Regions from separate parts of the Homo sapiens genome. Here regions 2, 3, 4 and 5 are each linked to region 1. Evidence: promoter capture Hi-C in 16 types of primary human blood cells and fetal thymus (Javierre and others, 2016). All regions are on one chromosome and are shown on one strand. Each heading gives the region's core, a stretch centred on a gene start or on the middle of the fragment in contact. The rest is flanking DNA. Distances are from core to core; before and after follow the strand shown. Region 1 holds the start of FUS (FUS RNA binding protein). Region 2 has its middle 55 kb from the start of ZNF267. Region 3 has its middle 21 kb from the start of ZNF267. Region 4 overlaps KRABD5 (KRAB domain containing 5). Region 5 has its middle 8.9 kb from the start of KRABD5.

The links. Contacts are between HindIII fragments. The CHiCAGO score rates a contact against its expected background, and 5 or more counts as called.
Region 2: a fragment that was not itself captured here is called in contact with the fragment with the promoter of FUS in region 1 in 1 of 17 cell types (activated CD4 T cells); the score reaches 5.2 in activated CD4 T cells.
Region 3: a fragment that was not itself captured here is called in contact with the fragment with the promoter of FUS in region 1 in 2 of 17 cell types (endothelial precursors and M0 macrophages); the score reaches 6.7 in endothelial precursors.
Region 4: a fragment that was not itself captured here is called in contact with the fragment with the promoter of FUS in region 1 in 2 of 17 cell types (activated CD4 T cells and fetal thymus); the score reaches 5.5 in activated CD4 T cells.
Region 5: a contact is called between a fragment that was not itself captured here and the fragment with the promoter of FUS in region 1, in 4 of 17 cell types (fetal thymus, erythroblasts, activated CD4 T cells and 1 more). The highest score is 10.1, in fetal thymus.

What each region holds. Positions count from the first base shown.
Region 1 is chr16:31,176,105-31,182,453 of GRCh38, forward strand. It overlaps FUS (FUS RNA binding protein), which reads left to right and starts at 4,035. Exons shown (of 15, transcript NM_004960.4): 1 at 4,035-4,123; 2 at 6,294-6,318. The coding sequence starts at 4,111. RefSeq lists enhancers at 2,921-2,980, 3,272-4,032, 3,491-3,560, 4,033-4,794, 4,795-5,555 and 5 more and silencers at 3,721-3,790, 4,431-4,580, 4,701-4,750. The HindIII fragment of the contact is 6,651 bases long and covers 4,011-6,349 here.
Region 2 is chr16:31,925,297-31,931,645 of GRCh38, forward strand. No RefSeq gene overlaps it. Among named protein-coding and RNA genes, the nearest start is that of ZNF267, 55 kb to the left of the region's middle. The HindIII fragment of the contact is 231 bases long and covers 2,383-2,613 here.
Region 3 is chr16:31,849,546-31,855,894 of GRCh38, forward strand. No RefSeq gene overlaps it. Among named protein-coding and RNA genes, the nearest start is that of ZNF267, 21 kb to the right of the region's middle. The HindIII fragment of the contact is 1,077 bases long and covers 3,576-4,652 here.
Region 4 is chr16:31,720,072-31,726,420 of GRCh38, forward strand. It overlaps KRABD5 (KRAB domain containing 5), which reads left to right. Exons shown (of 5, transcript NM_001130913.2): 2 at 2,555-2,681; 3 at 3,187-3,282. Among named protein-coding and RNA genes, the nearest start is that of KRABD5, 10 kb to the left of the region's middle. The HindIII fragment of the contact is 1,106 bases long and covers 2,889-3,994 here.
Region 5 is chr16:31,701,193-31,707,541 of GRCh38, forward strand. It overlaps the pseudogene CLUHP3. Among named protein-coding and RNA genes, the nearest start is that of KRABD5, 8.9 kb to the right of the region's middle. The HindIII fragment of the contact is 2,676 bases long and covers 897-3,572 here.

The sequences.
Region 1 (6,349 bases), core at 2,785-5,284:
GGAGTGCAATGGCACAATCTCTGCTCACCGCAACCTCTGCCTCCCTGGCTCAAGCAATTCTCCTGCCTCAACCTCCCGAGTAGCTGGGACTACAGATGCGCGCCACCATGCCCGGCCAATTTCTGTATCTCTAGTAGAGATGGGGTTTCACCAGGTCGGTCAGGCTGGTCTCGAACTCCTGACCTCATGATCTGCCCACCTCAGCCTCCCAAAGTGCTGGGATTACAGGTGTGAGCGAACGCATCTGGCCCAATATCTGATATACATGTTAATTGAAACTGGGTGTGGTGGTCACACCTTTAATCACAGCACTTTGGGAGGATTCCCTTGAGCCTAGGAGTTCAAGACCAGCCTGGGCAACATAGCAAGACCCTGTCTCAAAAAAGAAAAATTTAACATTGACTTTCCTGTCAGAGATAGGAAGTAAATAAGACATTTATGGTGAACTTAAAGCACATATGGCAGCTAAAGGTGACAGTGTCTCACTCCAGCTGACCCTTGCCCTATGGAAGTGGGCCTGGAATGGCCCACTATTTTTAGTGTTGGCAACTAGTTAAAAAAATTAAAACATTCGAGGCAGGTGGATCACTTGAGATCAGGAGTTCGAGAACAGCCTGGGCAATATGGTGAAACCCCGTCTCTACTAAAAATAGGAAAATTAGCTGGACATGGTGATGCATGCCTGTAATCTCAGCTACTCGGGAGGCTGCAGCACAAGAATTGCTTGAACCCGGGAGGCAGAGGTTGCAGTGAGCTGAGATCACGTCACTGCACTCCAGCCTGGGTGACAGAGTGAGACTCCATCTCAAAAAAAAAAAAAAAAGAAAGAAAGAAATGGCCATTTGATTTAGTCTTTCAGAGTCACATATTTTTTTTTTTTTGAGGCCGAGTCTCATCTGCCACCATGCCCAGCCCAGAGTCACAGCTGGAGCCTGAACTCTGCCTCAGTGTCTTCCCCACTTGTGCCTTTGTCTTCGCGGTTCTGCCTATTATAGCCTTTCCTCCCTTGCTGCTTGGCAAACTTCTACTTATCCAGTAAGCCTTGGCTTCAGGGTTACCATCTCTCTTTAGTGTTCTGTGGTTGTCCACCTGATGGATGACTTACTCTGCTGGCAGGGTTTCCAGTCTTTGATTCCATGTGATGGCACTTACTACACTCAAGTACACTTTGTGGTCTGTGTGTCTCACCCACATTCACCCACTGGCTGGTCCTGTGGTTTAGGAACTGAGCTTTTTTTTATCCATATCCATCCAGTCGGCCCCATGATTGGAACATACTATGCAGTGCTCAGGCAATGTTTGCTGAAGCGCAGGGGTTAAGAGCAGGCTACCTGGCTTGGGAACCCAGCTTTGCCACTTCCTGTGTAGCTTCAGCATAACTTTCCGTCTTTCTTTTTTTTTAGAGACAGAGTCTTGCTCTACTCTATCATCCAGGCTGCAGTGCAGTGGCGCGATCTCGGCTCACTGCAACCTCTGCCTCCGGGGTTCAAGCAATTCTCCTGCCTCAGCCTCCTGAGTAGCTGGGACTACAGGTGCGCGCCACTATGCCTGGCTAATGTTTGTATTTTTAGTAGAGACGGGGTTTCACCATGTTGGTCAGGCTGGTCTCGAACTCCTGACGTTGTGATCTGCCCTCCTTGGCCTCCCAAAGTGCTGGGATTACAGGCGTGAGCCACCGTGCCCGGTCAACTGCCTGTCTTTCTATGCTTATTTCCTCATCTGTAAAATGTCATCCTTAGCAGGGCGTGGTGGCTCACACCTGTAATTCCAGCAATTTGGGAGGCCAAGGCAGATGGATCATCTGAGGCCAGGAGTTCGAGACCAGCCTGGCCAACATGGTGAAACCCCGTCTCTACTAAGAATACAAACATTAGCTGGGTGTGGTGGCGCACACCTGTACTCCCAGCTACTTGGGAGGTTGAAGTTGTAGAATCACTTGAACGCGGGAGGCACATGTTGCAGTGAGCCGAGACGGCGCCCCTGCACTCCAGCCTGGGTGACAGAGTGAGACAGTGTCCCCCCAAAAAAAAAAAAGATAAAATGTCATCCTCACATCAGCCTTTTGTTGTGAAAAATAAAATCAAGAGTTTACTCAGTCAGAACAGGGCCTGACAGTAAGTCTTGTTAAAGTGTTAGCTATTACATATTATAGATGAGCACAATGTATATCATTATTAAATGTCAGCTTTATTATTATTATTTGTTTTGAGACAGTCTTGCTCTGTTGCCCAGGCTGGAGTGCAGTGGCACGTCTTGGCTCACTGCAACTTCCGCCTCCTGGGTTCAAGCGATTCTCCCATCTCAGCTTCCTGAGTAGCTGGGATTACAGATGCGCGGACGACGCCTGGCTAATTTTTGTATTTTTAGTAGAGACGGGGTTTCACCATGTTGGCCAGGCTGGTCTCGAACTCCTGACCTCGTGATCCACACGCCTCGGCCTCCCAAAGTGCTGGTATTACAGGCGTGAGCCACCGCACCCGGTCAGCTTTATTATTAAATGTTAACTTCATCTGCTTTGTACACGAATGCATACCCAGTGCCCAGAACAGTGCCTGGAACATACTAGGTGCTAAATAAATATTTGTGACTTAATGCATGAATAAGGGTGGACTTCCTTTCTTTTGCTCTCACTGGAGAGTTGAACTCTCCTTCCAAAGGCGGTGGGGTGGATATTGGCATATTCAGGGCCTTTAGGGCTGAAGTCAAGGGCTTAGTGGGGCTTAATTTGTGGGCGGGCCCAGGGCATGGCCCTCATTGTTTCTCTAGAAAGACGTGTCCAACCCTCAAAGGACCTTCTGAAATCCCGCTGAAAGGTTAAGTTGGGAAGGAAAACCTGCATGCCTATGTATCAGGAATTAACGTCTTTTGTCTTGTTTTATTCAGTAGTTTCAAATTGCCTTCTCCAGGCAAGGCTGATGAAAGTGCAAGTTGCAAGTTAATTTGAATGTTTCTTTTTGCTTTTGCTCTCACAGGAAGTGAAAAGGCGACCAAACACTCTAGCATTCATGCCACCAAAAAGAGGAGTGTTTTGCAGTTACAAGACCTGGATTCGAATCACGACTCCTCTTAGCTGCCCTGTAATCAGGCACAATTACTTGGGTCTCTGAGTCTCACTTTCCTTATCTAGAAAACGGAGGTATCTTTACTTCCTTCGTAAGACTGATGACAAGGAAATTATCTGTGCATTTTGAAACCACTTAAGCCTTGTACACGTTTTATTTCTGGGATCGCCCTGGTAGGGCTTCAGAAAAATAAAAAGGAGGTCCCTGAGAAAAGGCTGGGTACCGTACATCTGAGGTCAACCCTCTCTGGTCCCAAGGATGGCCTGGGCTGTTCCGCCCCGTGGCTCCCCAGGGGCAAAGCCATGAGGATCCGGGTGAGAGCCCAGTGCTGGACGAGCCCGGGGCCCAGGGGTCCCGGCCGAAATCCCTGCTGTCTTTCAGGTCAAACGTCATAATCCCCGAACCCCAGAAAGGCCGAAAGGCAAGGCAACCCTGAAAGACGACGAAGTCAACCTCAGGGCGCAGGAGAGGGAGGGCCAGTGTGCTGCCGACGAGGGAGGCTGGAGCCGCGGGGACGAGGCGCCCCATACAGCGGCAAGAGGGTGGAGGGCAGGAGCTCGCCATCCTGGGTGAAAGCGGGGCCCAGCGAAGGGGCCCGGCCACAGGAATCTCGGTTCCACCCCGCTACTCCCGGCTGTGACTCCAGTTTCGTCCCCAGCCGCCGGGACCGCCCCCTCGCCCCGCCCCCAGCGGGCACTCAGGCCGTACCACTGTGCCTTCATGGGGGTGGAGATAGATCGTGGGCTAGTCCTGCCGAGGAGAGAGGGGTTCTTCCTCAAAAAATATGATTATGTATAGTATTCGCATGATTCTAGTTAACTTGTTTCCCTTCTGCCTGCTCGGACCCTCTACCTGCCCTACGAAGGGGGCGGAGTGCGTTCCTGCCTCCCCCTGCTCTTCCGCGTTTGGTGCGCGCCTGCGCGGTGCGTAGGCGGCGGAGCGTACTTAAGCTTCGACGCAGGAGGCGGGGCTGCTCAGTCCTCCAGGCGTCGGTACTCAGCGGTGTTGGAACTTCGTTGCTTGCTTGCCTGTGCGCGCGTGCGCGGACATGGCCTCAAACGGTAGGTAAGGGCGCGAGGCGACGGCGGCGGCGCACCCGGCCGAGGCCTCCCAGCTGGGCTTTTCGTTTTCAGTGGGACCGGGGCGGCGATCCCGTGTGGGATTTTTTGGCGCCCCTGTGGCGGGAAGCCGCGGAGAAGAGTAACTGGAGGAGGCTGGTGTCGCCATTTTGTTTCGCTCCTCTGGCCCTCGCGCGCGGGGCGGGAAGTCTTTTCTTTGCAGTCCGTTTGCTTGGGGTGGGCGTTGGGAGGGACGCTTCTTAGGGGTTTGAAGCGTCAGGTGAGGGTGGAAAACGCCCATTCTCCGTGGCCTCGCCTCCCCCAACTCCCGGCCCCGCGCTCGAGCCCGCTTTGTCGCAGTGCTGCATCCGGGCACTCGCGGCGCGCACGCGCTCTGCGGGCCCCTCCCCCTTCGCGGCGCGGGTACCCCTTCCCCGCCTCGTGTTGGTTCAGCTTTCTGTCGCGAGACCCTTCGCGGAAGACTCGGCGGCGCGCGTCCGGTGTGAGCCTTGTCCCTCAGTGGTCCTTCGCGAATGGGCGGGATCGCTCCGTTCCCGCCTGGGTTGCCACGCGGCTGGGGGCGGAGGCTCGGGATCGGGGCCGCCCTCTAGCTTAACGGTTTGGCGGCGGTGGTCAGGGTTCGACCAACGGACTTGGGGACGGCCCGAGAGTTTTTCCCGCCTAAATTTCTTTCTTTTTTTTTTTGGAGACACGGTCTTCCTCTGTCGCCCAGGCTGGAGTGCAGTGGTGCGATCTCAGATCACTGCAACGTCCACCTCCTGGGTTCAAGTGATTCTTCTGCCTCAGCCTCCTGAGTAGTTGGGATTATAGGCGCCCGCCACCACAGCCCGGCTAATTTTTGTGTTTCTTAGTAGGGGCGGGGTTTCACCATGTTGGTCAGGCTGGTCTCGAACTGCTGACCTCAGGTGATCCGCCCGCCTGGGCCTCCCGAAGTGTCGGGATTACAGACGTAAGCCAACCACGCCTGGTCTAAATTTCTTTTTTCTGAGATAGGGACGGAGAAGAACGGCCGCCCGAGGCCACACCCTCTCCTGGTCCTCTTTCCCTTTTCCTGCGGGGGAAGCGCCGCGTTTCCTGTGCTGGGAGGATGAGTTGATCTTGTTCGTGTATCTTAAGTGGGGCTTTTCAAAAGCGCTTTTGTTGCTTTTTGTTCGCTGGGGGAAGGCAGGGTAGGTGAGAAAACGGAACCATCTGGAGTCCCAGGGCTGGGGACTCGAGTACCTGTTGACTTTCGCCTCCTAAGGCGAGCAGTTGCATGATCTCTGTCATTTGGGGTCCAAGGGCTCTTTTGATTCTCTGGCTTTGCACTAAAAAGCCCACTTCATCTCCGGGATTGGTCAAAGAGTGAAGAATGGCCTTTTTTGAGACTTTCTTATTCTGTGGGTCTGGGCTGAGAGAGCAGAGGCCACAATCTGAACACTGTTCGAATTCAAACCTGTGCCACTTTGGTAGTTCTGCGACGTTGGGAGAGTTAGTCTCTTGACTCCTGGCGATAATGGCTTTCTCATAGAGTGGATGAAACGAATGCGCGATGTTTTAGAGCAATCACTGACATGAATTGGGCTTGCAGAAAATTGTGGATGTCCACCAAGACCTTGGTTTTTCCAATGGTTAAGGCTTCTGGGACTCTGTAGAAACTTGCATTTTCTTCACTTTTTCTTTATTGTAAGAACACTTGGCTGATAACGCCAGTTTGTTCCTCTTCTCAACCAGTGTCTCATGGAGGAATTTTATGCCCTTTGTTGCAACATGGTCCTATTTTTATTTTTTTTTTTGAGATGGAGTCTTGCTCTGTTGCCAGGCTGGAGTGCAATGGCTCACTGCAACCTCTGCCTCCCGGGTTCAAGCGATTCTCCTGCTTCACCTCCCGAGTAGCTGGGATTACAGGCGTGCGCCACCATGCCCGGCTAATTTTTTGTATTTTTATTAGAGATGGGGCTTCACCATGTTGGTCAGGCCAGTCTCGAATTCCTGACCTCAAGTGATCCACCCACCTCGGCCTCCCAAACTGCTGGGATTACAGGCATGATCCACCGTGCCTGGCCTACGTGGTCCTTTTTATTCATCAGTGCTTGAGTTAAGGAATTTAGCTTTAATTCAACTCTTTCAGAGTGGCAGCTGAAGATAATGTGATTGTATTTTTCTTTTGCAGATTATACCCAACAAGCAACCCAAAGGTGAGTGCTATTTTTGGGCTTCCAGAGTTTG
Region 2 (6,349 bases), core at 1,248-3,747, 750 kb after region 1:
TCCAAATATTGTTTTACTTGTATGGGTTTGTGAACCTTAAGATGTGGAGACCATTGAGCCTTTAAGGCAATATTCTTCTGGCAATTCTCTGGCTTCTTATTGTTAGCAGACTTCTGAATGATTCTACTCCGAGGTCATGCCAAGATGGTCTTCTGTTGTTGGATAAAGTCCTCTATCAGGGAAGAAATAAGTTTATTGGGCTGTGTTTTCTTGTTATCTGGGGGATTGAAAAACACTAAGTGTTGGTCTCTGTTTTTCTCAGTTGAGTTAGGGGAATAACATGCATTGCCACAAAACAATTCCTTCAGTTCTGGAGTCCTTAAGCAGACTGTCTTCTTCATACCACCTTTCAGAGCTCTCCTTTCAAGGCTTCCTGTGTGATTTTCAAGGTTTATAGCTGTAGTTAGTGGAGAAATGCAGGGGGAAATGGGTCTGTTATAAGAAAAATTTTAGACTGTAATATTTCCCTGTCCCACAATCTGGAAGGGAGCCGAGACTAAATAATGATCCAGACCAATCCAGCTTGGCAAGTAGATAAGTGTGTTAAGACTTACATGTGGGACCCTCCTAGGAGGCAGCAGGACAGCGTTAGAGTCCACATCACCTCCCATCTCTAAGCTGCTTTTAAGCACTTTTACAGCTTTTTGCCTACCATGTGTGTATCATGGGACTCTCCCTTGGTATGTTCTCAGATACTCTCTAGGATGTTTGCATTCTCAGAAACACCTGCTCCTCAGCTGGTCCCCATGGCCTTGGCTCACTACCTGGCCTTCAGTGCTCAAGCAGTGGATATACACCTTTAAGTTATCTAGTGGAGGACTTGTCACACTATAGGGTCTACATCATCCTTTCCAAACTCAAAGTTTCTACTCACAGACTTTTTTGTTGACTAAGGATTCTTCTGACATCCTGAACTAATTTAAGATTGCCTGGAAAGTCTTCCAACAAATCAGTAATAAAATGTATTCCTTATATCCTATGTCATCTTGAACATAATGGAATACATGGCCCAAAAAAACTCACCAGTGTTAGCCCACCAGCGTTGTAGTACCACAAAACAAGAGAAACATGATAATATAAATAAAGAAACTGAGTGTGCTGCCTTCTATTGCATTATAACAACATCAGCAAATGACTGACACCCTCTCCCCTGATTTTCAGGCATTAAAATTAGGGTTCTGTGGGTTAATCTTATATCAATATGGAGGGCTCTTTCTTTTTGATGACATTACCATTTAAATTTGTAATCTTTGAGTAAGCAGATTGTCCTACATACTGCGGGTTAGGCCTCATCCAATCATTTGAAGGTTTAAATAAAACAAAAAAGCCAGCCTTCCTGAGCAAGAGAAATATCTCCATTAGATCGCTTTTGTACTTTATCTGCACCATTAACTATGTCAAATTTTCCTCAAAATTAAAACTGGAATTGCCCTCTCAGATCTCAGTCTTAATCTTCTCAGCCCACATTGCAGATTTGGACTTGCCAGTCTCCATAATCAAATGAGCCTGTGTGTGTACATATATATATACACACACATACATGTATATGTATATTATATACTATATTATCATACACAAACATACACACGTGTGTGCATGTGTGCATGTTATCATATAGTATATAATATGTATTATAAGTATTGAATTATACACTACATATATTAAGGTTAAATGAATTCATAAGGGAGAGCCCTTATTCTGGTAGGAATGGTATCTTTATAAGAAGAGGAAGGGACACCAGAAAGCTCTTTCTCCACACACAGAGAGGAAAGCTATATGAGAACACAGAAGGGAGCCTCCAATAAGCCAGGAAGAGACGAGTTACTGGAAACCAACCCTGCATAATAGGACCTTGATCTTGGACTTAAAGCATCCAGAATTGTAGAAAAATAATTGTATGCTGTTTAGTCCATCCAGTTTGTGGTACTTGTTATGAAAACTTGAGATAATTTATACAATATACCATTGGCTCTATTTCTCTAAAGAATCTTGGCTAATACAGATTTTGGTACTAAGAGTGGTTTTATAGGAATGACCTGGATAAATCTTATTTTTTGGTTCTGAAGTTTCTGTATTGGGCTCAATAATTTGATTAAATTCAGACACTATTAATTATTTCCAGTAGTAATAAGAGCATTGATAGTGCATGTCATGACATGGCAAAAAAGGTGCAGAATATTGCCATTGAATACCCCTAATGAAGCATTTTTAGAATCAAGAACCTGGACAACCATGCCTATAATACTTTGAAACATTTTTGTCAAAATAAAAATATATGAATATTGACTGGTTGTTTGTAATGTCCGTGGACAAAGTGGGGAAAGAAAAGAATGAGCTCAGAAAAAAAAATGTGTATGCCAAATTCCACGTTCATGACCTTAAAGCTTCTATGTCTGCCATGAAGATGCTTATCTCCAGTAACCACAAGGCCAAGATTGCTGAAAACCAAATGCAGAATCTCATCCTGTGAGTACCTGAATTACAACACAAATTAAATTACCAGACTAGTGTCATGTCAAATATCAAAATGACGACAGAAGAGAATGGGAACCTATATTCAGCATTCTTAAAGAAAATAATTTCTGACTAATAATTTTATATCCAGCCAAATTAAGCTTCATAAGTGAAGGAGAAATAAGATCCTTTTCAGGCAAGCAAATACTAATGAAATTTGTTACCACCAGACCTGCCTTACAAGAGTTCCTGAAGGGAGTGCTACATATGGAAATAAAAGACTGTTATCAGCCATTATAAAAACACATTTGAATACATAGACCAGTGACACTATAAAGCAACCACACAAACAAGTCTGCATAGTAGCCAACTAACAACATAACAGGATGAAGTCTGCACATATCAATATTAACCTTGAATGTAAGTGAGCTAAATGCCCCAATTAAAAGGCATAGAGTAACAAGTTAGACAAAGAAGCAAGACCCAATGGTATGCTGTCTTTGAGGGAAACATCTCACATGCAATGATACCTGTAGGCTCAAAGAAAAGGGATGAAGAAAAATCTACCAAGCAAACAAACAAACAAAAAGCCTGGGGTTGCTATTTAATTCCAGACAAAATAGACTTCAAACTAACAAAGATCAAAAAAGACAAAGAAGGACATTACGTAATGGCAAAGAACTCAATTAAACAAAAAGACCTAACTATCCTAAATATATATTCATGCATCACAGGAGCACCCAGGTTCATGAAGCAAATTCTTACAGACCTGTGAAGAAACTTAGATAACCACACAGTAATAGTGGGAGACTTCAACAACGAATTCAGAGTTATTAGACAGATCATTGAGGCAGAAAACTAACAAAGGTATTCAGGACCTGAACTCGACACTTGACCAAATGAACCTAATAGAGATCTACAGAACTCTCCACCCCCAAACACCAGAATACACATTCTTCTCATCTGCACATGGCACACACACTCTAAGACTGACTGCACAATTAGATATAAAATAATCCTCAGCAGATTTTTAAAAAATCATACCAACCACAGTCACAGACCAGAGAGAAAGAAAAATACAAATTAATACTAAGAAAATTGATCAAAACCATACAATTACTTGGAAATTAAACAACATGTTCCTGAATGACTTTTGGGTAAACAATGAAATTAAAGCAGAAATTATGAAATTCTTTGAAACTAATAAAGATACAACATACCAGAATCTCTGGAACACTAAAGTAGGGTTAAGAGAGAAACTTATACACTAAACACCCACATCAAAAAGTTACATCTGAAATTGACAACCTAACATCACAACTGGAGGAACTAGAGAAACAAGAACAAACCAACCCCAAAGCCAGCAGAAGACAAGAAATAACCAAAATCAGATCTGAACTGAAGGAAACTGAGATTTAAAAAAACCCATATAATAGATCAATAAATTCAGAAGTTGGTTATTCGAAAGAATTAATAAGATAGATTGACTACTAGCTAGAAGATTAAATAAAAAAGAGAAAAGGTTCAAATAAACAATCAGAAAAAAATGGGACATTACCACTGATGCTGCATAAATACAAAATACCCTAAGAGACAACTACAAACTTATGTACATAAAAGCTAGAAAACCTAGAAGAAGTAGATACATTCCTGGAAACATACAACCTCCCAAGACTGAACTGGGAAGAAAGTGAATCCCTGAACAGACCAATAATGTGTTCCAAAATTGAATCAGTAAGAAAATACCTACCCACCAAAAAAATCCCAGGACCAGATGGATTCACAGCAAAATTTTATTAGATGTGTAAAGAAGAGCTGGTACCATTCCTACTGAAATTATTTTTAAAAATTGAAGATAAAGGACTCTTCTCTAACTCATTCTGTGAGGCCAACATTATTATCATATCAAAACCTGGCAGAGATACAGCAAAGAAAGAAAACTTCAGGCCAATATTCCTGATGAACATAGATAGAAATATCTTCAACAAAATACTAATAAACAGAATTTAGCAGCACATCAAAAAGCTAATTCACCATGATCGAGTAGGCTTCATCCTTGGGATGCAAGGTTGGTTCAGCATACACAAATCAAAAAAAGTGATTCACCACATAAACAGAACCCAAACCAAAAACTACATGATCATCTCAGTAGATGCAGAAAAAAACTTTTGAAAGGATTCAACGCTCCTTAATGTTAAAAACTCTAAACAAACTAGGCATTGAAGAAACATACCACTAAATAATAAAACTCTTCTATGAAAAACTCACAGCCAACATCATCCTAAATGAGTGAAAGCTAGAGGCATTCCCCTAGAGAAACAGAACAAGACAGGGATACCCTCTCTTATCACTTCTATTCAACATGATACCGGAAGTCATAGTCACAGAAATCAGCCATGAGAAAGAAATAAAAGGCATCCAAATAGGAAGAGAGGAAGTCAAACTATAACTGTTTGCAGACAATATAATTATATACCTAGGAAACCCCATAGTCTCTGCTCCAAAATTTCTAGATCTGATAAACTTCAGCAAATCTCAGGATACAAGAATCAATGGACAAAAATCAGTAGCATTCCCCTACACCAACAACATCCAAACTGACAGCGAAATCAAGAATGCAATTCTGTTCACAACAGCCACAAAAAGAAAAAATAATACCTAGGAACGCAGCTAACAAACAATGCAAAAGTTCTCCACAATGAGAATTACAAAACACCGCTCAAAGTAATTAGAGATGACACAAACAAATAGAAAAACATTTCATGCTCATGGATAGGCAGAATCAATATTGTTAAAATGGCCATACTGCCCATGACAATTTACAGATTCAATGCTATTTCTATCAAACTGCCAATGACATTCTTCATAGAATTAGAAACAACTATTTTAAAATTCATATGAAAAAAAAAAAGGCCAAATAGCCAAGGTAATCCTAAGCAAAAAGAACAAAGCTGGAGACATCACATTCCCTGACTTCAAACTATACTATACAGTGACTAAAACACCATGGTACTGGTCCAAAAATAGACACACAGAAGAATGGAACAAAACAGAGATCTAGAAATAATGCCATACACCTTTAATCTTCTCATCTTCAATAAAATTGACCAAAACAAGCAATGAGGAAAAGACTCCCAATGCAAAAATGGTACTGGGATAACTAGCTAGCCATGTACAGAAGAGTAAAACTGGACCCATCCCTTACACCATATACAAAAATCAACTCAAAGTGGAATAAATACTTAAATGTAAAATCTAAACCTATTAAAAACCCTGAAGACAACCTAGGAAATACCATTCTGGACATGGCCTTGGCAAATATTTTATGATGAAGACACCAAAAGCAATTGTAACAAAAAGAAAAATTGACAAATGAGACCTAGTTAAACTAAAGAGCTTCTTCACGGGAAAAGGAAATTATAAACAGAGCAAACAGACAATCTACAGAATGGGAAAATAGTATTTGTGAACTATGCATCTGACAAAGGTCTAATATTCCGCATATATAAGAAACTTAAATACATGTACAAGCAAAAACAAAAATGCCCATTAATAAGTTGGTAAAGGACATGAACAGACACTTCTCAAAAGAAGACACACACAGCCAACGAGCATATGAAAAAAATGCTCAACATCAGTAATCATTAGAAGAATGCAAATCAAAACCACAATGAGATACCATCTCTCACCAGTCAGAATGGCTTTTATTAAAAAGTCAAATAAAAAAAGATGCTGTCAAAGTTGTGGAGAAAAGGGAACGCTTATATACTGCTAGTGGGAATGTAAATTACTTCAGCCACTGTGGAGAGCAGTTTGGCAATTTCAGAAAGAACTCAAGGCAGAATTACCATTCAATCTCACAATCCCATTATTGGGTATATACCCAAAGGAATAT
Region 3 (6,349 bases), core at 2,864-5,363, 670 kb after region 1:
TACAAAAAGCAAAAATCTGTTGGCAAGTTCCAAAGTTTTCTAAAAGAGGTAAAAGGAAAAAGTCAGGGAATTCAGGAATGCAAAAAGAAAGAAGGCAAGGTCAGTACTTTAAAGGAGAAGGTAAAAATAAATGGTGTAAGGGCTGTGGATATAAAAGTAAGGAGGAAAAACAAGGGGACCCTCTGGCCCAGGGTTAATAACTCATGCAACTTATGGCAGGCATCTGCTGAGCCTCTAGGCTGACAGTGGCCCAGGGCACGGACTGCAGCCATGAAGATCCCACCCAACAAGTAAGTGTGAGAGAAAGAGGAAACAGGAGGTGACAGAGAGAAGGAGAAAACGCAAATGAAGGAGAGAGATAGAAGGAAAAAATAAGTAAAAAAAAAAAAAGACTGGAAAAAACAAAGATAAAAAAACACAAAAAATAAAACTAGGGAAAAAATAGTGTAAAAAAAGTCTAAAAGTTTATCTAAAAGTTAAGGCATGTCAAAAATTGTAAAAGTCCTAAAAAATTTTATAAAAGGGAATTTATGCAAAAAATTATATAATTTAAAAATAATTAAGCCTCCTAAATGTAAAACTATTAAAGAAGCAACTTGTGTGCAAGGTATATAAGGAAAGTAAAATATACTTTTAGAAAAAAATTATAAGAAAACATAAGAATGTGAATTTTTACCTACATTAACATTTTTTAAATAGATGCTAAAGAAAATTCAGAAGGAAAATAAATATTGCTAAACCAAAATTAAAAAAATGTTATCCAAACCCCTTATTAAAAAAATCTTGTTCCAACTGCATCAAAAAACCCACTGGGGCTCTCCAGCACAGGTTTAATACCAACAAGTTTCCACCTCCAGCGGCTCCTACAGAGGCTGCAGTGAGAGCCTGCGAGGGCGTGGGGGGGACAAACACTACAGGTGCAAGGGAGGGGGCCAAACAACTGTCAGACAGCACAGCCCAGCCCAGCCCAAGGCCAGGGGCTAGACAGTGGGGTCTCTGGCAGGAGCAAGGTCTGGGGGCAGTGCGGTAAGTCACAAGGACCCTCATCCCCACAAGGCCGCAATGCATGGTAGCAGTAAAGGCCGCAGGGAAGCCGGGACCTTAAGAGGGGCCAGGGCCACAGCATCCCCTAGGCTACATTGAACGGGAATGAAGCGGGAGGCGTCACCGTGGGGCTTCGGGCCCCAGGATATGCAAAGTTCTAACTTTCTGAGGGACCCCAAATTTTCCCTCAAAAACAACATAAGTAAAAATTAAAAAAGGAAATTTAAGTCAAAAACTACCTATAGGTTGCCTTACTTACATTCCACGGCTGATATCCGCACATTTAAAACAACAACAAAAAAATCAGTTTCTCAAAAATTACATACTTATTTTCCACTTTCCTTTTCCTCAAAACTAAAAGTCTTCTAGCACAGGTGCCACTCTTAAAATTTCCAGTAAACCAGCACCAGCCTGGAAACCATGTCCTTATCAAAGGATAAAAAGAAGAAAAACTCAAGCCAGCCTAAGAAAAACCCTACCTTGTGCTGCTAACCCACCAAGACTGCGGTTCCCACAGCAGAAGAGAATGAACACCACATACCCGAGTCAAAAAAGCGTCATCACCGTCAAAGTCATAGGCCGTTGTTCCAGGGTTAAGCCCTACCAAGTTAAAGCTATAAAAACGTAATCTATCTATCTTTTTTCTTTTCTTCCCTTTAACTACTTCCTATCTTATTAATATAACTAAATCTAACTCACCTCAAGTTACTACTTTTAATGCCTGTTTAGTTATCACTCCTCCCAGACACAAAAACAAGACCAAAGTCTCTACAGTAAAAATAAAAAACCTAAAGCAAACAATAACAATTAAAACAGGATATCAAAATGTAAATGGCTGGTTAAAATAAATTAAATATTTCATCTGCATCTAAATAAAAGTGACCGTTAAACACGTGTGCATGGTAGGCTAGAGGCCCAGGTTGTCCCCTTTCCACTCAAATAGTCCTCTAATCAACAAAACATGGACTACATGGTAGCTCCTTTTCAAAATCCTACAGCCTGAGATAATAAACTGTGTCAAACGCTCTCGCTACTATTTCCTAAAATGCAGTACCCTGCGGGTCAGCCCCCGAGGGCCATCTAGCCTCCATCTTCCAAGACCAATTTTACCTGGTGTCTCCAACAACAAGGGAAAAATTTAGTGTTCCTTGAAAACTTAATGCAGTGAAGTCAGGCACTTCCAAGAGCTGACCCATCAATCCCCCCTTATTCATCACCAAACAGGTATGTAATAATATTGTAGAAGACCTTTACTGAACACTCTGCCAAATAATTAAAGCAATATTTGTGCTCTAGTTCAATTGGCTATCCCTTTTACCGTGGCATTTCACCAACCAGAAAAACTTTTTCTTTTAAAAACTCAAGCAAAACAGCTAAACCAAAACATGTTAAAAAATTTTAAAGAAAAAAAGCTATAAAATCAAAAGGAAGGAATTGCAGAAAGTAAAAAGTTTCCTCTTCAAAGTTTCCATTCTTGTTACAGGATAAATAAGTGTTAGAAATAATAGTTTCTTTTAAAGACTAATTTCTTTCAAGCCTCCTTACTTTGTGCTAATAACTCTTTGTTTAAGCCCTATCCTATGTAGCTGTTAAACATGCTCACAGGCACATAGTACATTCTATGTCCTTGTGCCTTAACGGAAATACCTGTCCTGGATGTGCTCACAGGCATGTCCCAGCTCACAGCCTGTCACTTCCTTATTTAGGAATGTTATTACTTTTCTAAGTCCTTTCATAAACAACTTCCTCTTTTCATTTATCTTTCCATTGCTTTTACCTGTTTAAAAAATTTTAAGTTATTAGCCAATCAGGTTTTAATTTAAATTATGAAGTCTGTCTCCAGCCAATAAAAACAGGACACAAGAGCAGGGACAAGCTACATAAAAAATAAAAATTGCTTCCCTCCCTTGTTCAAATGTGCTCTTGCCATTGTTCCATCTGCAAGGAGCACCCTTTCTGCAGAAAGTAAAATTTCCTTGCTAAAAAAACCTTTTTGTCTAAATGCTAATTTTTCCTTACATGACCGAAAAACAAGCATTCTGTTTCTAAATAAACGTCTTACCTATAACATATACCATTACAAAATTACAAATATCCTTTCGAACATCTGTAAATTTATGTGCTCATGATATTAAAATTTATATTTTTATCTGAAAATAGTTATAATTCAGTGAGACACAAGAACAAAATTATGAGAGAGTTATCTACATCATTGAGAAAATCCTCCTGCCACTACCAACGTAAGTCGTGATCACTCACTTTTACTAAAGCTGAGAAACATCCATTTGCCCAGCGGAGTCCTGGAGTGAGTCTGTGTGTGTGGATGGTGGTCCCTGAGACTTGGTTATAAAGAAGGGATACTGTCAGCTCGTCTCCCTCCAGGCCCATAACTGTCATGTCACCTGTAGAAGCAGGACAGCCCTGGCCTCGAGATTATTGGAAAGGGGAGCAACAAAAGGAAAAACTGAACACATTTAATTCCTGGAAAAGATCAGTGTAGGACAGATGGGTTTCAAACTTTAACGTGTGCAAGCTTGTTTTCTTAGGTAATTTTGCCCAGGAGGGTTGTCTGGTCTCAGTTATTGCCAATAAAGTAGAAGCAATAACTATAGTTTCAAACTTTGTTTAATTTCTGTGTTGCTTTACCAAACATCCTTGCTAACTGAAGAAATTTCTGGGGGCCTTCACACATGGTCCCCAGTTGTCCCTACGTTTCAATATTACAGGTAGTCTATGTAAAACTTTTTTGGGAATGAAGAAAATGCCCCCTGCACCAGGCTTACATAGCGCTTACAGTGAAGTTGTTTCTACTTACAGGGATGTTTAACTACACAGTCAGCATGAGAGCATGTGGAATAAAATGATTAACACATTCTTAGCAACTGACAACTTTTATTTGCTTCTGAGACACCACCAACCACACCTATGTTATAACTAGTGCTAACTTTAACCTTGATCATGATTGCCACATTTGGAGTTACACTTTCTTAATCAAACATCATCTGATACTGAAGTGGTGACTTCTCATGCACTTAATCTATAGATTTTCCCCCAAGGCACCAGTTCTGAATATGTTTGAGTTCATGCTGGTGTACCTCTCATGTGCCATATCTGAGGCTCTAACAAATAAACTCTCCAGGCCGGGCACGGTGGCTCATGCCTGCAATCCCAGCCCTTTGGGAGGCCAAGGCAGGCGGATCACTTCAGGTCAGGAGTTTGAGACCAGCTGGCCAATACGGTGAAACCCCGTCTCTACTAAAAACACGGAAATTAGCCAGGCATCATGGCAGGCACCTGGAATCCCAGCTATTCAGGAAGCTGAGGCAGAAGAATCACTCAAACCCAGGAGGCAGAGGTTGCAGTGAGCTGAGATCGGGCCACTGCACTCTAGGCTGGGCAACAGAGCGAGATTCTGTCTCAAAAATTAAAATAAAATAAAATACAAAATAAACTTTCCATTCAGCTGCAGTCAGGACCACTTGATCCCCAGACTTCTACTGTCTTCAGTGACAATTCTCCCTGTCATCTTAAACCCAGCTGCCATCACTATGACGTTGGTGCTCAATCCAGTCAGTGTCCTTAGGTCTTGATTTATTTTCCTTCTCTGAAGCTTTTCAATTACTTCTTTATAAATTATTTTGTCTGATGCTCACAGAAAAAGCCTGCCTAATAAGAACCCTATACCCACAAAAACTAGCTATTAAAAATGAAGGTTAAATAAAAACATTTTATGTAAATAAAAACTGATACAATTTGTTGCTAGCCAACTGACCTTATGAAAAAATGGCAAAAGAAGTTTTTCAGGCTGAAAGCAAGTAAATCCAGACAATAATTTGAATGCATAAGAAAGACAAAGCACACACTAGCAAAACTAATTACATAATTATAAGACAGTGTAAGTGAATTTATTTATTTATTTATTTATTTGCACATGAATAAATTCTTTAGTGGCGATTTCTGAGATTTTGGTGCACCCATCTCCCAGGGGCCTAATAACAGCTCCAGAAGGCCTGCCATCACTGGTGCCCTAGCATGAGCTCCAGAGGTCTGGGACTTCCCCTGCCCTGCCCACAGCCTATGCTCATGTGCATCACTAGGAGGACTTGAGAACAGGCCCACCTCACCTGCCTCTCTCCCACCCTTAGTGGTCAAATATTCCACTTGTGGACCTGAGGACAGCATTGTACAGGTGGTAGCCTCTGGCATGAGTCCACCAGGGTCCTAAAAACAGGCCAAGAAAATGTGCAGCCAGCACTCAAGCATGCTGTCTAAAGGTCTAGGAATCTCCCATGCCATCCACCACTGCTGTCATCTGGGTACTCTTGGGGTCCTAAGGATGGGCCCACCCAGACAACCACCAGCATCCACACTCATGTGTCACCTAAGGCTCTAGGGACTGTCTGATTCAGCCCATTGCAGCCACCACAAACACTGTGAGTGCTGCCTGGAAGCCTGAAGTTGCCTCAACCCCACTACTCTCCTCATCCACACGGTACACACTGCTCAGAGGCCTGAGGACTTGCCCCATTTCCTAGCCCACTGCTGTTACTACAGACATCAGAGCAAGCCTCCTGAAGGCCTGAGAATCAACAGGCTTAGGCACACTAACACCAGTGCCCACATACACTACCCAGCAGCCCAAGGACAGACACCCTCAACCCTTTACTGCTGCCACTGTCACCATGGGGGCTGAAGGACTGGCCTATCTGGTGTTCCATTCCTACCAAAACCTCACCACAGCCTCAACTAGCAAACACAGCCTAAGCAAGGTTATACCTCATAATGAAGGAGAAATAAAGACGTTCCCAGACAAGCAAAAACTGAAGAAATTCATCACCACTAGACAAGCCCTGGAAGATTACCTAGACAGAAAATCAATAATGAAACATCAGATTTAAACTGTACTTTAGACCAGGGGTCCCCAACCGTCGGGTCACAGACCAATACCCACCCCTGGCTTGTTAGGAACCAGGAAGCTCAGCAGGAGGTGAGTGGCAGGTGAGCCAGTGAAGCTGAGCTCTACCTCCTGTCAGATCAGCAGCAGCATTAGATTGTCATAGGAGCTCAAACCCTATTGTGAACTGCACATGCCAGTGATCCAGGCTGTATGCTCCTTATGAGAATCTAATGATAAATGTAATGCACTTAAATTATCCTGAAATCATCCCCCTCCCCTAGTCCTAGGAAAAATTGTCTTCCACGAAACCAGTTCCTGGTGCCAAAAAGGTTAGGCACCGTTGCTTTAGACCAAAGGAACCTAACAGACATCTGCAGAACACTTGATCCAATGACTGCAAAACATACA
Region 4 (6,349 bases), core at 2,192-4,691, 540 kb after region 1:
TGGCTTAACTCACACCATGTGATGTTGCCAGCACAGTGCATACTGTGAGCACACAGTACAAGCTCAGTAAACACTGCTTTAATGCATGTATCCATGCTGTTTTCCAAATGCTGACTTAGATGTTACTGTCCTCTCCAGCCTCTGTAGACTTTAAATGGCTGGCAAAGGATGTGATTTTTCAGGACAGTGGTTGGTGGTCCTCGCTGTGAATGAAAAGTATTTGCGTTGTGATTAGAGTATTGGGTGTAAGGGACCCTGTGTTTTGTGCCCGCTTCCTCTAGCTGTGTGCTACTGATTATGGGTCTTAAGCCAATTCATGGAACTTTTCCAAACCTGCAGAATCACAGTACTTAGCACGGGCCCCAGAATACCAAATGATGTGTATGCATATTGAAGCTTGAGAGGGAATGCTTAGTTAAGTGATTCTCAGCTCAGGCTTCTAAGTAGAGTCACATGGCCAGTTTTAAGAAATATGGCCACCTGTATGTTCCTCCACATATTCTGTTTATTATTATACCCAGACTATGATTTACTTTTTTCCCCCACTAATATACAACGATTATGGGTCCATCAGTGCGTGAGCATTGATACCAATTCGTCTCATTACAGTCGATGCTAACTTCATTCACCTGGTTCAGGTGCTCTCTGCCAGATTCCTTCACTAGTTATTTTTCTCTTTGTTGTTAATGTGTTTCTAGGAGGGAGGATTTACTGAGTGATGCATGTAAACCATCATGTTTAATCCAGAGACTGCCATTTCTCTTTAGTTTCCCTTTGCTTGTGGGTTGCTTTGGAGAGTGAAGGCTCTCACATTTGTTGACCGTAAATACTGGTTTTTGAAACTGGAAATTCTGAAACAAGCCTCACTTCTGTAGGTTTCCATTTTAATTTGCTAATTTCACAAGCATACACTCCTTTATTCTCTGTATTTTCAGAGAAAGATAACAACAATTAACATATAATTAATATATCTACTGTCTTAAAATTCTAAAATATAACAGCACTTAGAATAAATAAAAACTTGGGGAAAAGAACTAGACTCAGAAACACAAGCTCTTATTTTAGTTTATGTCATTGAATGTGTTAGTCTTCATAGTTTGTTAAAAAACAGAAAAAGCCATCATCCATATAGTTTTAACACAATTTAAAATATTTCTTAATTAAGAAATGTTCTGTCACTTTTCATGTATGTATAGTTACCATTTCTATGTACGTATGTGCGTGTGACATAAGCATCATTTGATCAGTTTTGTGTTGCTGCCTTCCTGTTTTCATCTTCTTCTCAGTTGTGACACCTGCTCTGAACATTCTTTTTTACTTATCTCTGCATATTGGCCTGTATGTCCCTTTAAAATGAATTCTAAGTTAGATACTGGGGTAAAATAATAAATAAAAAAATAAATAAATATAAATAAATAATAAAATAAGCTCTACTATATACTAGATATTTGGCAAAAAATTTTTTTTCAGGCTTGAGACAGAGAGGGGAAGGGTCAGCAAAATATTTTTATTAAAGAGGAAGAATAGTATTATTTCTCATATAGATTTTTGTGGTTTTTATCAATACATGAAAAACTGCTAGGATGACATCTAGTAAATAGTAAGTGTTCAAAAAGGATTCTACTATTCTTGCTATTATGTTATAACCTGTAAATTTCATAAAACTCTCAATTCCACATCATCCCTGAATTCTTCGTTCAGTGTTCAACCTCTCTGCTATTCAAAAGTGTGGCCTCTGGACCTGAGGCATTGGTGTCACTGGTAAGCTTGTTAAAAATGCGGAAACGCAGCCCCAGCCCCAGCCCCAGATCTCCTGAATCAGAATCTGCATTTGAACCAGTTCTGCAGTTTATTGCTGAACACAATAAAATTTCAGAAGTATGCCTCTAAGTCACCATGACTTTTCCACCTGAGAATTATATACAACTGATTGTGGATGATGTAAATATAGACTAAAAAATGTATACTCCTATGTTGATGCGTTAGTTTTTTGTTTTTTGTTTTTTTGTTTTTGTTTTTTGAGACGGAATTTCGCTCTTGTTGCTCAGGCTGGAGTTCAGTGGTGCAATCTTGGCTCACTGCAACCTCCACTTCCTGGTTCAAGTGATTCTCCTGCCTCAGGTTCCTGAGTAGCTGGGATTACAGGCATGTGCCACCACGCCCAGCTAATTTTTTGTATTTTTAGTAGAGATGGGGTTTCATCATGTTGGCCAGGCTAGTCTCGAACTTAGGTGATCCACCCATCTCGGCATCCCAAAGTGCTGAGATTACAGGTATGAGCTACCGCGCCCGGCCTCGATGCCTTAGTTTTATACTTTATATTCCATATAGGCATAGTATCTACACTGGTTTTGTGGATTTTGTATCATTCTCTTTCCACAGAGTTAGAGAATACATAGAAAATATTATTGTGTTTAAAAGTATCTTATTGAATATTTCAGGTCACTCATATAAATCAGTCAGTTTTCTTAGCTCTCTTATTTCATCTTGGTTTGTCAAGTGATGAACTCTGCCCATGGCCACATGGTCAATGTGCTATTTATTTTTATTTCAGGGACTGTTGACATTCAGGGATGTGGCCATAGAATTCTCTCGGGAGGAGTGGGAACACCTGGACTCAGATCAGAAGCTTTTATATGGGGATGTGATGTTAGAGAACTACGGAAACCTGGTCTCTCTGGGTGAGGATAACTTGCCTTTGGAATATCTAATATCTAATAACTAAGGGTTTTATTTCTTTCCTTTGTAGAATGTCACTTGGGAGCTTATGCTTTATATGAATGAATTCAGATTCCTGTTTCCAGGAAAAAAAAATTGTGGGTTTGTTGTAGAAAAGACTTCCTAATGTTTGATCTTGACATTTGCCTTCTTTCTTGAGGTGATGTAGAAGCTTCACTCTAGTTTAGTAGTGATTCTAGAAAATTGAGTGACATAAACTATCATTGCCCACACTTTAAAATCTAATTCCTTCTCCTTATTTTTGATTTAGTCATACTTGGAAGTGAAGCTCAGGATTCCTGTGTTTAAAATGCTTCCTGAATATTCTAAAGAAGCTGACAGGAAACAGTATTTGGGGAAGTAATTTTCTAGGATCCTCTATAATGTTCCCTCTTTACTGAGTATCCTACTGAGCTGGCAATTAAAGAACTCCCAGCAAGAGTCATGTGACTTTTTCTAATAAAACAGGTCTCGCTGTCTCTAAGCCGGACCTGATCACCTTTTTGGAGCAAAGGAAAGAGCCCTGGAATGTGAAGAGTGCAGAGACAGTAGCCATCCAGCCAGGTAGGTGGGAGTGAATGAAGTAGATGACATGGGCGAGAGGTCCAGAGATTAAGAAAGAACCAGACCTTGAAGTGTGGATTGGGAAGTTCTCCAGTGGAAATGATTTTTGAGACACCTGGGTTTATTTCTTTCTCTTGCTGCTGTCACAGAGGGACATCTTCTGTCTCATATTCTTAAATTATCTGATTATTCTCCTTACCCTTCTGTGATCCACCATCAAATTCACAGTGACAGCCAAAGTGCTCCCCTTGGCCTGTGAGGGCCTGCGTGATCTGACTGTTCTTCCATTGATTTGGGGGCTCTGGGAAAGTCTGTGCATGTTTCTACCTCTATGTGAAACCACTTCTAAAGTTCTGGTTTTGCCTCATGTCAGAAGTGTGTGAGGCGAGTGATGGACAGTAGGATTTTTTTCAGAAGTCCCAGGAATTCTGTGGATAGATGTCACATATTTTCTGGTATATTAATTTCTAATCCTATGGTGGTTTCCCAGATGATCCTACAAAAATTGAGACTCAGTAATTCATCAGAGTGCAAAACATCTTCCTAAATATAAAAAAAAATCTGATTCTGTATTTCACTTCAACTTTTCATCTTTCCTAGCCTAAACTAAGATTAGAAATATAATCTCTGTATGCACAAATTCCACAGATTTAAAATCATTTAATATATTACTTACTATGTAGAATTCTTAACTAAATGAATGTCTATGGGAAGCTTACAACATTGTCCAGTATATAGTGAACTTTCAACTCTTACCTTATATATTCATAACATTTTATAATTTTGTCTGGTTAACTGTGAAGCTTAATGAGAATGTGTTCTTTATGTTCGTTTTCTTTCTTTTCCTTTTCTTTTTTCTTTTCCTTCCTTCTTTCATGTGGATTTTTTTCCCACACTTGTAAATTATATATATTTAAGAGGTGCATCCTGATCGTTTGATTTTATATATGTATACATTGTGTATTGATTAATACAAATAAATTAATTAACATATTAATCATCTCACATAGTTGCCAGGTTTTTTGTGGAGAGAACATTAAAGATCTACTGTGGGCCGGGCGCGGTGGCTCACGCCTGTAATCCCAGCACTTTGGGAGGCCGATGCAGGCGGATCATGAGGTCAGGAGATTGAGACCATCCTGGCTAACACGATGAAACCCCGTCTCTACTAAAAAATACAAAAAAAAAATTAGCCGGGCGTGGTGGCGGGTGCCTGTAGTCCCAGCTACTCTGGAGTCTGAGGCAGGAGAATGGTGTGAACCTGGGAGGCGGAGCTTGCAGTGAGCCGAGATCGCGCCACTGCACTCCAGCCTGGGTGACAGAGAGCAAGACTCCGTCTCAAAAAAAAAAGAAAAAAAAAAAAGATCTACTGTGTTAGCAAATCTCAAGTATATATGAGTATTGTAAACTATATTCATAATGCTTTACATTAGATCCCCAGAATTTATCTTTTAAATGAAAGTTTGTACTCTTTGACCAGTATCTCCCCAGTTTTACCACCTGTCAGCTGTTGGGACCCGTTCTACACTTTACTTCTATGAACTCACCTTTTTTTAGATTCCACAAATAACTGATATTATACAGTATTTGTATTTCTCTATCTTATTCAATTACCATAGTTCCACCTGGTTCATTCATCCATGTTGTCAGAAATGGTAGAACTACCTTCTTCATTATGCTGAATAATATTCCACTATATATTTTGAATAATCAGCTGTGAACATAGGGGTGCAGATATCTCTTTAACATACTGATTTTATTTATTTATTTATTTATTTTTGAGATGGAGTCTCACTTTGTTGCCCGGGCTGGAGTGCAGTGGCGCCATCTTGGCTCACTACAACCTCCGCTTCCTGGGTTGAAGCTATTCTGCCACCTCAGCCTCCCAAGTAGCTGGGATTACATGCTTGTGCCACCCCGCCTGGCTAATTTTTTCGTATTTTTAGTAGAGACGGGGTTTCGCCATGTTGGCCAGGCTGGTCTCGAATTCCTGGCCTCAAGTGATCCGCACACCTCGTCCTCCCAAAGTGCTGAGATTACAGGCGTGAGCCACTGCTCCTGCCAGATTGTATTTCTTTTAGGTATATACTTAGAAGTGGAATTGAGGTTCATATGGTACTTCTATTTTTAATATTTTGAGGAGCCTCTATGCTTTTTCCCATAATGGCTGGATCAATTTACATTTCCACCAATGGCATACAACGTTTCCTTTTCTCCACACTGTCACCAACATTTGTGATCGCTTGTCTCTTTGATAGTAGACATTCTAACGGTATGAGGTGATATCTCATGATCTGATATCTCATTGTGTTATCTCTCTGTAAATGTGAGGTGATGGCTCATTGAGGTTTGGTGTTCATTTCCCTGATGATTAATTATATTCAGCACCTTTTCTTAAACCTGTTTGCTACTTTTATGTAATCCCTGGAAGACTTTCTAGTCAGGTCCTTTGCATATTTTTAAGTCAGATTTACTGGCAACTGAGTTGTGTGAGATTCTTACATCTTTTGGATATGAAACTCGTATCAGATATATTTTCTCCCAGTCCTTAGGCCAGTCCTTAGGTTGCCTTTTCATGTTGTTCTTTGTTTCCTTTGCTGTGCAGGCAATTTTTAGTTTGATGTAGTCCCGCTTGTTTTTGTTTTTGTTTTTTGATTTTGTTGATTGTGCTTTTTTGGTGTGAAATCTAAAAAATTAGTACCAAGGCTGATGTTGAAGAGTTTGTTCCCTGTGTTTCTTCTAAAAGTTATCCAGTTTCTGGTTTTACATTTAAGTGTTAATTCTTTTTGAGTTCATTTTTGTATATGGTATAAATGTTCAATTTCATCCTTTTGCTCATAAATATCCACCTTTTCCAGCATCATTTATTGAAGAGACCATCCTTTTCCCTTTGTGTATCTTGGTGCCCTTGTCAAAGAGTGCTAACTCTATACACATGGGGTTATTTTTGGTTTCCTTGTTCTGTCCCATTGGTCTATATGTCTTTTTAGGTCAATATAATACTCACTATTAGTATAGCTTTGTAATAGTTTGGAATGAAGAAGTGTGATGCCTTCACCTTCATTCT
Region 5 (6,349 bases), core at 985-3,484, 520 kb after region 1:
AAGGGTTTAATAAGATGCATGAGGAAGCAAAGCCAATTCAGTAATTGATTGGCTACAATTACGTAGTCCCCTTATTTGAACTGTCCAGGCGGAAATTCCCTGATTATGTAATCAAAGGTTAATTGGTGGTTTGTGGTTGGTTAAGAGTGTTTTCTTTTCCTTTAAGTTATTTCTAAGAAATGCATGAGTTACGTTTTGGTTTTCTTAGGTAGAAACCCAGGGCACTACAGCCACTTCAGTCAAATTGCCTCCCATTTAATTATTTTAACACCCCACAGGGGGACTGATTTTCCCTGCATTTTCCAAATCTATGGCAAGGAGGGTCTCAAATCCACCACCCTGTTCCCCCAACCTAATTCTTCTAAGGCTTTCAGTAAAATTCTAAATTTTCACTTCCTTCTCCTGATTCTCAACTGCCAGCTTCCCCTCTGCAATTCACAACGTTATCAACTATTTGCTCTTTATTGTAGATTTCAAGCAGATGCAGCCTGACCATTAGGGCCAAGGCCAAATTGCAAAAAAAAAAAGAAGTTTGCCTTTATTCTACTCCATCCACATCTAAACTTTGGAGGTCAAGGCTGTGGACAGATCAGAAGACATAGTTCCCTCCTTCTGGGGCTCCACATCCTTCATTCACTGATCTCTGGGAAGGAGGATGGGTGGCAGGTAGGCAGCAATAGTCTACCTGTAGACACTTTCACCTAGGCCTTGAAGGATGAGTCAGTGTTTGCCCGACAGACTGAGATGTCAGGGGCAGCATGGAAAAGCAGAGAGGTGGGAGGGCAGGTTTCAGGTATTCTCAGTCCTCTGTGGTTTGGGGAATGTAGACCTAAGTGCAGGAGCCGGCAGGAGCTGGGGTTGCCTTTAGGCTGGTGCCTGAGAACACGGGCTTAAGAAGCTTGATTTTGGCTGGGTGTGGTGGCTCATGCCTGTGATCCCAGCACTTTGGGAGGCTGAGGCAGGCGGATCACCTGAGCTTAGGACCAGCCTGGCCAACATGGCCCCGTCTCTACTAAAAATACAAAAATTAGCTGGGCGTGGTGGCACATGCCTGTCCCACCTACTTGGGAGGCTGAGACAGGAGACTCTCTTGAACCCAGGAGGCGGAGGTTTCAGTGAGCCAAGATCACACCACTACACTCCGGCCTAGGCAACAGAGCAAGACTCCATCTCAAAAAAAAAAAGCAGCTTGGTTTTGTGAGCAGTGTGCTTCTTAGAAGGGTTCCAAGGGGCATTCTTGAAATAGGAGATGGGAAATTGAGGTTGGGTGACTAGATAAGTGGTGGGGGGCCTTCACACGCTGAGACCAGTTTGTGGAGGAAGATGAATTTCATCCCTGCAGGATGGGTCTTCCATGATACTGAAGGGAGAGCCACATGTTGATGCCCAGGACCAGCTGCCTCCTTGGTCTGAAAGGCCTGATCGAGGCCAGGATTGGCTATGAGAGCTGGGAAATGGGACCATCTTTGAAGCCATGGGAGAGGGTGAGGTGAGAATGAGGAGAGGCTGGGGGGCCCAACACTCCCAGCTCAGGACTGGAGGAAGAGGATGGAGCTGGAGAGGGAGGGACGAGGGTGTGGCATTGGTCAGGGAGGAGGAAAGGAAATGAGCAGTGGCCTGGGTGCTGGTGAGTGGACAGATGTACCTGGGCTGGAGAAGCCCCTGGGGCTTGGCCCTGAGGGTGGCCTTGGTGATGTGGGGAGAGTGGTTTGGACAGCGAGCTCAGGTGGAAGCCAGACTGTGGTGGGCTAAGGAGCAGTTGAGGAGGGAGGCACAGGATGTGAAAGGGAGAAGGTGCAGCTTGCAGGTGTGCCGAGGGTGAGCTGGGACTGTGGAGTCAAAGCTCTGGAGGGCACGCGGACACCGTTCCATATGACTTGTGTCCATCCAAGTGGGGTGAGGTGGACAGCCCTCCCTCACCAGCAAGGCCCAACCAACTCAGTGCCTTTCTTGTCACCCCCAGAGCCACCATCACTCATGTTCTTGAATGGGAACTGCCTGGAGACCCTGAAGAAGAAGGAGCCTGAAGGAGGAAGGAGGAGGCTGAGCCATCCCGGGAACATGGGCTGGATGAGGCCAAGCCAGGAGACGACACCACCAGATAGAAGTCACCATTCAGGATTTGGACTTTTCTGTGGAGATCCTGGCCCCGAGATCGAACCCTTCTCCCTGTGGGTATGATGGAGGAGGGGATCTGGGGACCAGGGCTTGAGCCTGCTGGGGAAGATGATGCTGGAAAACTCAGCCTTGCCCTGGCTCTTTCTGGCCCTGTGCTATAGGCAGGAAATGGAGGGCCCTGGGCCCTGCCCGGGGTCACTCTGCTAATGTGGTGGACCTGGGAATGGAGTCCGGGTTCAGTTACTGCCTTATTGCTAGAGGACAGCTACCAGCTGGGCCTACCAGCCCTGTTCAGGGAGAGGAGTGGGAATGGGTGGGTAGTGTCAGGTCCCAGGATGCCCCAGCCTCTTGGCTCTGTGCCCTCAGGCAAGTCACCTCTCTATGGGCCATGGCCTTACCATCTGTCACCGGGGCCTGGAGGGTGGTATTGGGTGTTCTCCAAGGACAGAGCAAACCCGGAGGACTTGCAAGCTGGTAACTTGGTGGGGAGCCTGGCAAGACCCTCTCATGTCCTCTCTACTCACAGGCTTGGGCCCTGGAGCACCCCTTCAGGAAGGAAAAGGCCATTTGCCCTGGGGCACTCAGCCCTTGGCACTAGGCAAGGGCAAGAGCAAGCCTGCCGTTCCCCCTCCCCACTTTCTTCCATCTCCCTCTCCTTGGCTCGGGGGTTGCTCTTAGGCTGCAGGAAGAGTCAGTGGGGCCAGGCTCTGTCCTGCACTTAGGCACACAGGTGCCAATGGGCATGCTGTATATGGACAGGGCCTGGAATGTAAAAGCCCAAAAGTGGGAAACTGAGTATTTGAGACACTTATTCTCAGGACCCAGGTGTTTTGGGCTGGGGAAGGGGTATGTCCTTGCTCCCTACCATGTGGCCTCTGACCGGGCTGGTCCGGGCCTTCTCCCTGGCAGGTGTTCCCGCAGGAGATGGTGCTGGAGATCCACCAGCTGTTCATGGACCATGAATACCCATGTCACCACATCACTTCTCACTGCACCTGGGTGGCAGCACACTGGACCACGTCTCAGAGCTGCGCAGCATGGCAGGGCTGCAGGCGGGCTTGCTGCTCCACGTGGTGGAAGGTTGGTCTGGAAGTTGGGCAGCCTGCCCAGGGAGGGCCCCTGTAAGCAGGGCCGGGCAACACTGCACTGCCCCAGCTGGTGTCTCTATTTCGCAGATGAGCATATGGAGGTGGGATTGGAGCACAAGTCTGCTTTTCAGGGCATCATACCTGCACTCTCTAACTTCATGGCCCAGGGGTGAAAAAACAGTTGAAATTCTGAAAAGAAAGTCAGGCAGTATGAAGCTAGGGCTTGGAATCCGCCCTATTAAATTATGAAAAGATGAGTGCTTAGTTTCCTAAAGAAACTAAAGTTTCACAGTCCTTGAGTGGGGAAGTCGGCTCCAAGCAGCACCATCAGCTGGTGTAGTGAGCCTGGCTTGGTTGTCAAATAAAAGCTTCCGTAGACTCAAGTTCTCTGGGTGAAGCACTCAGGTTCCCAGGGCCTGACTACTTGTGGAAAAGGTCTGTAGCTCAAGGGGGCCCACAGTTCATCACAATTTCTCCCTTCCTCCAAAACAATGACCATTAAAATCCCATGAAACTCAATGGGGGCGTTAAATTTGGCAGCCCTAGAAAGTTGTCAGGCCACCCCTGCATGAAGGCTGCCCCAGGAGAGCAGGGTGAGGCTGCAGAGGCCTAGCGCACAAAAAGCAGGAGGCCTTTTGTGGGCTCCCCAAGGCCTGTGTGTGCTTCAGAAGCAACTGGCAGGAGGTTCTTTGCAATCAAGGATTCTTGCCCTTAGCAAGCCAGGGTGTGTTGTGTGTGTGTTTGTGTGTGTGTGTAGGTGCGCACGTGCACACGTGTGTATTGAAACCAAACTCTAGCTTATGTGTCCATAGTGGAATTTGAAAATGGAAGCCTAAAGTTGAAAATTAAAATTATCCATGAAGTTTCCTTGCCAACTATTTACTAAGCTGGGTGGGTTGTTCCAGGGTGCAGGGCCCTGGTAACACCCTCCTCTCTCCTGTTCCTGACAGAGCCCTGCACAATGCACAAGGCCCACGGTGATGAGTGCCACATTTGAGACTGCTCAGGAGCCTGGACCCAGCTGATGCAGCTCCTTGTCCTTCCTGAGCGTCTTCACTGACAGTGGCCTGAGAGGTGTGGAGGCATTGGGGCCAGAGATTGGGCAGGGGGCAGAGGGGCAGGGAACAAGGAGGCCAGAGGCTGACGAAGGGGGCTTAAGGCCAGGCCTTTCTACCTGGAGGGGCCTGGGCCTGAGGAACCCAGACCAGGGCCACAGTTAGAGGCAGCTGGCCCTGGGTGCTTGTGTGCTGACCACCAGCCTTGGGTCTCACAGACGGCAGGAGCAGAAAGACTTGGAGATGGACCCCACCGACTGCACACCACCCAAGTACATCCTGCTAGGGACCCTGGAACAGCCACTGTGTCCCCTGCAACCCCAGAACGGTGACTAAAAGGTGGGACTCCAGGGAGGAGCAAGGAAGAGGGTCCCCGGGTGGGTGGAGGGCCACACACCAGGAGGCCTGGCCCATTCATGCTTGGCCATTCCTGCAGCCCCTGAAAGTGCTCACCGTGAGCGGCTGGTACCTGTCCCCTGGGAACTGCAAGATGCACAGGACCTTGTGTACCTGTTTGTGATCACAGCCGAGGACCAGCGAGGTAGCATTACCACATCCACACAGGGCTTTTACCATAACTGGTGAGTCCCTGCCAGCCTACCAGGGGCACCCACTCAGGGACCACCCTCTTCTTGTAGGTCTCCAGCCTGTCACTTCAACCCCAAGCCCACCAGCCCCCGCTTCCTAAGCAATTCGCAGGGGAGCTGCTCTGCCAGATCTGACTGCCTTTTACAGAACATTGTGCCCTGCGTCAGGGGAAGGGGAGTGCCTTTGCCCCGTCTGCTCCTGCCCCGCTTCATGTCACACAGGGGTCTGGGATGATTTGGCTAGCCCAAACTCAGTGCTTCTGCCCAAAGAAATTGTCCCCGGGCCCCCAGTGCCCAAGTCTCCCTCTAGGGAGCTGTGAACCAGCTCTGGCTAGAGCAGCCGTGAAGCAGCGCCCATGTGCTTCTGACTCGCCTTTCAGGGCAGCATCTCAGGGCCAGGAGAACCCAGAGCAGGTGAGGGCCTCGATGAAGAAGGAGCCTGTGGCAGCGTCCTGAGATTGGTGGGTGGCCCCATCTGCCTTTCCCCTGCCTGCCTTGAGGTCCAGTACCACCCATTCGAGAGGGGGCCACCTCATTCCAGGTGTGCAGCTGGATGGCCCCTGTGACGGAGTACACTGTGGACTGCAGTGTGGAGAGGCATCTGCACCTCAAGGCTGGGCTGTGAGGAGCACATTCCTGCATAGGGGCCTGTAGCCTGGCCCGGTCCTCAGTGGGAACCCCCTTCCTTCCTGGGTGCCAGGTGGGGTTCTGTGCACTTCCCTGAGGCTCCCCACAGGTCTGTTCATTGGGGAGTCTGGGGCTGTCTGTGGGGAGAGAGGAGAAGGGACTTCCCAGAGCAGGTTGCAGTGCACAGGCTGAGCCCATGTCTCCCTCCCTGGTCCCTCTGCAGCCCCAGTACTGGAACGAGGAGCTGCAGATGATGAGGGACCTACCCAACAAGAACCAACCTGAGCAGCTGCTTCAAGAAAAAGCCATGTTCAAGGTGCCTGAATCCCCTGGTAAGTGAGTGACAGCCTCACAGCCTCAGGCCCACCTGGCTCCTGCTGGAAGGTTTTCTTGTGCTCGGGAGAGAAGTGAGGGAAGCCGGCAGTCCCAGCCCTGTCAGGTGCCCTGAAGGCCCGTCAGGTTTGCCCTGCAAGGCCTTCTAGCATTCTGCTTCCTGGGAGACCATCCCCCACCTTTCTCCGGCCTCTGAGACTTTGAGTCCTTGGGAGGAGAAGGCCCTCCTTGCTATCTGGGCTGAGTGGCCAGGGCCATCCAGCTTCCCACCCTCCACTGACTGCCATGGGGCCCTCCCCTGAGCACATGGTGCCCAACTGTAGCCCTTCTAGGGCAGGGGCTCATTGGCAGCACTTGCAGCTTGCTGGCACTTAAAAGTCATTAGTGCGGTTACTGAGAGAAATGAGGAAAAAATAATTGTTAAAAAAAAAAAAAAATCTCTCCTAAACTTACTGTGTAACATGGAAGAAGTAACAGCCAAAATTTCTTGGGTACTAACTTTACCAGGATGATTCCAAGTGCTTTATAAGCATTATTTCCT